Linked DNA regions of Homo sapiens: region 2 is linked to region 1. Evidence: promoter capture Hi-C in human tissues and cell types (Jung and others, 2019). All regions are on one chromosome and are shown on one strand. The core of a region is centred on a gene start or on the middle of the fragment in contact, and the rest is flanking DNA. Distances in the headings are between cores, read along the strand shown.

Region 1 (4,312 bases), core at 1,330-3,829:
GTGGGATTACAGGCGTGAGCCACCGCGCCCGGCCTAATTTTTGTATTTCTATTAGAGACGGGGTTTTACCATGTTGGCCGGGCTGGTCTTGAACTCCTGGCCTCAAATGATCTGCCTGCCTCAGCCTTCCAAAGTGCTGGGATTATAGGTCTGAGCCACCGTGCCTGGCCTACATAAAGGATTTCATTGAAGATTTGCAAATGTCTGTGGGCTGGGCTGCCTCAATTTGAATCCTGGGTCCGCCGCTTCCCTGCTGTGTGGCCTTGTGCAGGTTACACAGTCTATCTGTGCATCAGAGTCTTCTGCTGAAAAACGGAGCTGATAAAAAAAAAAGAGAGAGAGAGAAACGGAGCTGATGAGAATGACTGTTGCCTCAGAAGGCTTTTGTGGGAATCCGTGGGGGTAAAAATGTGTAAGGTGCAAAGTGCCTTACACAGATCCCACTCTGACTGTCATCTCAGATGAGGAAACAGAAGTTCAGAGAGATGGCCAGGCATGGTGGCTCATGCCTGTAATCCCAGCACTTTGGGAGGCCGAGGCGGGCGGATCACGAGGTCAGGAGATTGAGACCATCCTGGCTAACACGGTGAAACCCCGTCTCTACTAAAAAATACAAAAAATTAGCCGGGCGTGGTGGCGGGTGCTTGTAGTCCCAGCTACTCGGGAGGCTGAGGCAAGAGAATGGCGTGAGCCCGGGAGGCGGAGCTTGCAGTGAGCTGAGATCATGCCACTGCACTCCAGCCTGGGCGACAGAACGAGACTCCATCTCAAAAAGAAAAAAAAAAAAAAGAAGTTCAGAGAGATAAGGTGACTTGTTCCAGGGCACACAGCCAGGAAGTGGCAGACCTGGGGCTTGAACTCAGACCCGTCTAACCTCAAACCCCATGCCTCCTCCTCTGCATCTGGCCTGCTCCAAACTGAACAGCAGGACACCTGAGGCCAAGTGCTGATTCCACCATTTCTTAGCTGTGTGAGTCTGGGCAGCCCAGTCATCCATCTGAGCCTCGGTTTTGTCATCTGCAAAATGGAGACATAATTCTTACTTACCCATCCTAGGAAAGTTGTGAGGCTCAGAGAATTGTGTGTGCCACAGCTAAGCCCTGGGCAAAGCAGAAAGATGAGTCTGGTTGACAGCTATGACCCCATCCACTCTACTGGTCTACAACACTCTGACCGCTTGTTCCAGAAGAGGGCACATCTTTTCATATGTACACCCCTCCCCATCTTTTACAGCTGCTCCTGCTCCCAGGATGTGTATCTGACTGGAGTTTCTGGATTAAAGGCCAGTCGTGGCTTCATTCCACATCCCTGGGTGCCCTTCGGCTCCTCCTAGGAGCATCTCCTGCACCCACCCCCCAGGGCCCCACCTCCAGGCTGCAGAGCTAAGACCTAGGGGCCCCTCCTCAGGGAACCCTCGCCGTCTTTGGAAGCAGCCAGCAGAGACGCTGCTGTTAAGGTCCATGCCTGTTTCTGCCCCCATCCTGCTGCTCTGGGCCATGGGAATAACCAGTGGGGAAGGAGTTCTGGCCCCTGGGTGTTAGGAATGTCGTCCTCCAAGAAATTGCATTAACCCTCTGAGAGACCAGCAGGGCGCAGCCATGAGGAAGACTGGGCATCAAGATGGCACTTGGGCTGGCTGCCCTGTGATGTGCACCAGCCCGGAGACCCACGTGCCTGCTTGCCAAAGAGGCTCCTTTGGGGAATGAGGAGCCCCTGATTCCTATTTCCCTACCCCAAATTCCTCGGAAGCCTCCGCCTCTGGGGGATGAGAAAGGGAAGCAGGTGGGTGGAGGTGAAGGGGGCAGGGAGCAGGTGGGAGGAGACCCGAAGAAACTTCAAGGACCTTATTTAAGAGCCTTGCCATTGCTGTGAAGAAAAATGACTTGAAACCTCTCTAGAGAAGAGTGTGGCTAATTGGCATGTATGTTGGAGGTTAAAGAGCGGAAGGAAGAATCTGATTGTTTTTTTAAGTTACTGAGAAAGTGAGAATGTCACTCTGGGCAGAGAGAAATTCTTTTTTTCTAGAGTGTGCCTTTCTTTGTACTGCAGACCACAGTGGGCCGCTGAGACTTGCAAAAAAGATTTCTTTTAATCCACCTTCCTTTTTCGCAGGCAGCAGTAGAAGGGCCTTTAAATCAAATGCAATCACCAAGCTTGTCTCTTGCTCTTATTCCTCACTTCACTCCCTGGAATTTGGCATTTGATGGATTCTGGATCTGACTTAAGGCTTTTTCTAAATCCAAGACTTGGGGAATTTTGTTAACAGTGCAATAAAAATAACTTCATAGTGTTACAGGAGGCACATTAAAGACGGTGTGTGTGTATGTGTGTGTGTGCTGCTCTCTTTCCTTAAAAAAAAAATACAGACAATGTTTCTTTAAAAGTCTCCATCTGCAAATCCCATTAGATGTGCATATAAGGTTTCTGATGATTAATAGTTGCCTGCTAGGGTTTTGGTTGGAGGGGATCTTGTGTGTGTGGGTTAACCCCTCCCTCTCCTCTCTCACATTTCACTTCAGAAATTTGTCACTCTCTCCCCACCGCAGGATTTAAAAGTGTGTCCCAGCAGCCCTGGTCCAGCCCTCTGCAGGCATTTGCTCTGGGCTCCAGGACGAACTCCTCGTCAGCTGGTGCGTCTGGGTTGGGACAGTGAAAATGTTTAGTGTCATTGGCGACAAATACACATACAGGGGATCCCAGTAGGTAGGCTGGTGCATTGGAGGGGCAGGAGCAAGCCCGACATAGGTGTGTGCACACACATAGGAGTAGCTGGCCACATGTGTGTGTACTTTAAGGAGAGACTTTAGTTTTGGGTTTTTTTTTTTTTTTGGTTCCTGGGGTAAATTTTCTGTTGAACATTTTTCCCTCCTATTTAGTTTTTTTTCTTTTGCATTTTTAAAAATTTGAACATAAAAAGTATAAAGAATCAAATCTTTGAAAGGACCGAGGCGTGCAGCGGACAGCAGATGGATCCCGCGGCCAGCAGCTGCATGAGGAGCCTCCAGCCCCCAGCCCCTGTCTGGGGCTGCCTTCGAAACCCCCACTCGGAAGGCAATGGGGCCTCAGGGCTACCCCACTACCCGCCCACCCCGTTCTCCTTCCACCAGAAACCAGACTTCCTGGCGACAGCGACGGCAGCGTACCCTGACTTCTCAGCCTCCTGCCTGGCAGCCACCCCACACAGCCTGCCCCAGGAGGAGCACATCTTCACTGAGCAGCACCCCGCTTTCCCACAGTCCCCCAACTGGCACTTCCCTGTCTCAGACGCCCGGCGCAGGCCCAACTCAGGCCCGGCAGGGGGTTCCAAGGAAATGGGGACCAGCAGCCTGGGCCTGGTGGACACCACAGGAGGCCCAGGCGATGACTACGGGGTGCTTGGGAGCACTGCCAATGAGACAGAGAAGAAATCATCCAGGCGGAGAAAGGAGAGTTCAGGTAGGTGGCTCAGGAGCAGCTGATCATTCCTTTACTGTGTGACCCTGGGGAAGTTACTCACCCTCTCTGTGCCTAGGTGCTCTGAGCATGAATTTCTGTCTAGTCCATCCAAATGCAGGAGACTGGACCAGTTACCTTTGGGGTTTCTTCCACTGAGAGTTCTAGGATTCTCTGGTGATGGGGACCATGTCTGTGTCCCAGCACTCCTGGGCCCCAGAAAGGGTGTCCAGCAAGAGAATGAAACAGGATCAGCCAGGATTTGGAGGACACGTGAAATGGATCCTCTGGGTGCAGACTGGCGAGGGCTGGTGAGGGGCTTTCCTGAATCAGGCTGCCATTGAGTCATCCTCCTCCCCACCATGCTTTGGCCAGCCCCAAGTGGTCCTAGAGCCACAGGGCTCGCTTACCAGGGAAGTTCAGCTGAGGTTAAGGCTCTGAGAGCTAAGACTGAAGCTGGGACCCTGGGTGGCCACCCAAAGCCAAGACCCTATGTGTCCAGGAGCCTAGAGGCAGAGAAGCAGGCCTGCGGCTGGGATGGGAGAATCAAGGGGTGAGGGGGAGATGGAGGGCTGAGGTTTGGGGCAGACTGCCCACCAGATATCACCCTGCGGAGCTGGGCCATGTCCAGGCCAAGGGGACAGACAACTCAGCATGCTGAGATCTGGCTGACCCCCCAGGAAGGCAGCCCCGCAAGGAGCTGCAAGGGATGGGCAGCCTCTGAGAGAGTCAGGGAGGCAGGCAGCCAAGGGAGTCCGTGCTGGAGTCCCAGAGGCTGGAGGATGAGATTGGCCTATTTGTTAAGATTCCAGCTAAAGCCCTTCTCTTCCCCAGGGTGGGGACCTGCTGCTTCCTCACCTCCCCACCAGGCCCTCCCTGG
Region 2 (3,837 bases), core at 510-3,009, 68 kb after region 1:
GGTGAAGGAGTAGTTCTCAAGATTATTAAGACTTAGGATGTGTCCTCAAGGAGTTTGTAGTTTGGGCAGGGATTGAGATCTTGCCCTACTGTGTGGCCAGAGCATAAGATGGCAGGAAAGGGGGCTGGGGTCCAGACCTAATTCAAAGGAAAGGCCGGGGTTCTGGTATCCTTTCATCACTTGGCATTTCCAGGTTTCAGAGGAAGAAAATCAAGTTAAAATCCTGATTCCCCATTTCTCCTTCTGGCATCTCTGATTGGCATCCTTTACAAGGATGGAATTTCATGACTTGTGTATTTGTGTACTTGTGAATCAGTGACCCTCTTGTTTTGGACTTTATGGGAGACTTGCGTGGGGAGAGGGAATTGTGCTCATTCACCTGGGGGGGTTGGGGTGATCCCCACTTGTCAAAGGTGTTTGAACCAGAGCAACGCCATCTTGAGTAGCAGCTGGGCAAAATGAGGCTGAGACCTGCTGGGTTGCATTCCCAGGAGGTTAGGCATTCTTAGTCACAGGATGAGACAGAAGATCAGCACAAGATACAGGTCCCAAAGACCTTGCTGATAAAAGAGAATGCAGTAAAGAAGATGGCCAAAACCCACCCAAACCAAGATGGCCACGAAAGTGATCTCTGGTCGTCCTCACTGTTCATTATATGTTAATTATAATACATTAGCATGCTAAAAGACACTCCTACCATCACCATGACAGTTTACAAATACCATGGCACCTTCCGGAAGTTACCCTATATAGTCTAAGAAGGGTAGGGACTTTCAGTTCTGGGAAATCTCTGCCCTTTTCCCAGGAAACTCATGAGTAATCCATCCCTTTTTAGCATATAATAAAGAAATAACTATAGCCGGGTGTGGTGGCTCATGCCTGTAATCCCAGCACTTTGGGAGGCTGAGGCAGGAGGATCACTTGAGGTCAGGAGTTCAAGACCAGCCTGGCCAACATGATGAAAACCTGTCTCTACTAAAAATATAAAAAATTAGCCTGATGTTGTGGCGCACAGCTGTAATCCCAACTACTTGGGAGGCTGAGGCAGGAGAATTGCTAGAAACCAGGAGGCGGAGGTTGCAGTGAGCTGAATTGCACCACTGCACTCCAGCTTGGACAACAGAGCGAGACTCCGTCTCAAAAAAAAAAAAAAAAAACCGGAACAATAAGCATACTCAGTCAAGCAACTCATGCCGCCGCTCTGCCTATGCAGTATCCATTCTTTATTCATTTAGTTTCTTTTTTTTTTTTTTGAGACGGAGTTTTGCTTTTGTTGCTCAGGTTGGAGTGCAATGGCGCGATCTTGGCTCACTGCCACCTCCACCTCCTGGGTTCCAGCGATTCTCCTGCCTCAGTCTCCTGAGTAGCTGGGATTACAGGCGTGAGTCACCACGCCCGGCTAATTTTGTATTTTTAGTAGAGATGGGGTCTCTCCATATTGATCAGGCTGGTCTCGAACTCCTGACCTAAGGTGATCCGCCTCCTCGGCCTCCCAAAGTGCTGGAATTACAGGAGTGAGCCACCACGCCCAGCCCGTTTACTTTCTTAATAAACTTGCTTTCACTTTACTCTATAAACTCGCCCCGAATTCTTTCTTCTGCAAGGTCCAAGAATCCTCTCTTGGGATCTGGATTGGGCCCCCTTTCAGGTAACATACTCATGACCCCAAAAGCCCTGAGAACCAGCCCTCTCACCAGCAGACCTCCTCCCCTCAACTGAGCTCTACAACTAGCAGGTTGGTTCCAAATCCACAATTCATTCAGTCAACAAACCTCCAGTGATCAGCTTCACTGTTTGCCAAGCAGTAGGATAGAGAAATGGAAAAGACAGTCCCAGCCCTCCCAGTGGGAGGGAACAAAAAATAAGCAGGTGGCCGGACAGGTGGCTCACGCCTGTAATCCCAGCAGTTTGGGAGGTCGAGGCGGGTGGATCACTTGAGGTCAGGAGTTTGAGACCAGCCTGGCCAACATGGTGAAACCCCGTCTCTACTAAAAATACAAAAATTAACCGGGTGTGGTGACAGGCACCTGTAATCCCAACTACTCGGGAGGCTGAGGCAGGAGAATTGTTTAAACCCAGGGGCAGAGGTTGCAGTGAGCCAAGATGGCGCCACTGCACTCCAGCCTGGGTGACAGAGTGAGACCCTGTCTCAAACAAAAAAAAAAAAAAGAAAAGAAAAGAAAAAGGCGGGTAATTGCAGCACAGCAGGGTAAGTTCCACCAATGGAGGAAGTGATCACAGGGGGCTGTAGCAGCATCAGTGTCTCCTGAGATCTTGTTAGAAATGCAAATGTGCAAGCCCTACTTCAGACCTATTGATTCTGAAACTGGGAGGGGCCCAGCAATCGGTGTTTTAGCAAACCCTCCATGCGATTCTGATGAGGGCTAATGTTTGAGAATCAATAAGCTGTAGGAACACAGAAGAGAAAGTGGAATTTTTTTTTTGAGACAGAGTCTCCCTCTGTTGCCCAGGCTGGAGTGCAGTTGCAGTGATCTCGGCTCACTGCAAGCTCCGCCTCCCAGGTTCACGCCATTCTCCTGCCTCAGCCTCCTGAGTAGCTAGGACTACAGGCACCCACCACCACGCCTGGCTAATTTTTTTGTATTTTTAGTAGAGATGGGGTTTCATTGTGTTAGCCAGGATGGTCTCGATCTCCTGACCTTGTGATCCACCTACCTCGGCCTCCCAAAGTGCTGGGATTATAGGCGTGAGCCACCCTGCCCGGCTGAAAGTGGTAGTTTTTTTTTTTTGAGATGGAATTTTGCTCTTGTTGCCCAGGCTGGAGTGCAATGGCATGATCTCGGCATACTGCAACCTCTGCCTCCCGGGTTCAAGCAGTTCTCCTGACTCAGCCTCCTGAGTAGCTGGGATCACAGGCGCCTGCCACCATGCCCAGCTACTTTTTTGTATTTTTAGTAGAGATGGGATTTCACCATGTTGGCCAGGCTGGTCTTGAACTCCTGACCTTAGGTGATCCACCAGCCTCGGCCTCCCCAAGCGCTGGGATTACAGGCGCGAGCCACCACGCCCAGCAAGTACTTTTTTTTTAAATTTAATTTTGTTGTTGTTGTTGAGATGGAGTCTCACTCTGTCACCCAGGCTGGAATGCATTGGCGCAATCTCGGCTCACTGCAACCTCCACCTTCTGTGTTCAAGCGATTCTCCTGCCTCGGCCTCCCGAGTAGCTGGGATTACAGGCATGCACCACTGTGCCCAGCTAATTTTTGTATTTTTAGTAAAGATGTGGTTTCACCATGTTGGCCAGACTGGTCTCGAACTCCTGAGCTCAAGTGATCCGCCTGCCTCCGTCTTCCAAAGTACCAAGACTACAGGCATGAGCCACTGCTCCCAGCCAAGAAAACAGTACTTAACCCTGAATGGAGTGATCAGGAAATGCTTCCTGAAGGAAGAAACTCCTGAGGTGAATCTTCCAGAAGGAGCCTGATGAAGAGGTAAAAAGATGCCCCAGGTGAATGAAGCTGTGTATGCAAGAGCACGGAGGGTAAGGAGTTTGCAAAGAACCACAGGGGTGGGTGGTGGGTTGGCAGCCAAGTGGCTAGAGATGGGGAGAGTGGCTGGGAAGAGACATCGGGAATCAGAGATTTCAGTTTCTGAGTGAAGGAAGGCGAGAGAGTGTGGGTGTGCCGTAGACCCCATTGCAGTAAACAGCCTCGCCTAAACCAGGCAGGGCAGATACCCCAGGCCTCCCCTGGGGCCTAGAAGCCTCCCCATCTCACTCTGCAACTCCTCGGGTTAACCAAAGCAGCATGACCTCATGTGTTATGGCTGCAAAGGCGCGGGGGAGGCCATATCCGGTGTTTGTATTGAAATTAATTG

What was found. The method cuts DNA at HindIII sites, captures the fragments that hold promoters and counts their contacts. A contact is called where the count stands out against the background at its distance.
Region 2: a contact is called between a fragment that was not itself captured here and the fragment with the promoter of MEOX1 in region 1, in 2 of the 25 tissues and cell types used here (bladder and neural progenitor cells).

Annotation. Positions count from the first base shown.
Region 1 is chr17:43,660,189-43,664,500 of GRCh38, reverse strand. It overlaps MEOX1 (mesenchyme homeobox 1), which reads left to right and starts at 2,579. Exons shown (of 3, transcript NM_004527.4): 1 at 2,579-3,435. The coding sequence starts at 2,967. RefSeq lists an enhancer at 3,285-3,826. The HindIII fragment of the contact is 25,285 bases long and covers 1-4,312 here.
Region 2 is chr17:43,592,336-43,596,172 of GRCh38, reverse strand. No RefSeq gene overlaps it. Among named protein-coding and RNA genes, the nearest start is that of ETV4, 48 kb to the right of the region's middle. RefSeq lists an enhancer at 3,491-3,837. The HindIII fragment of the contact is 5,639 bases long and covers 1-3,837 here.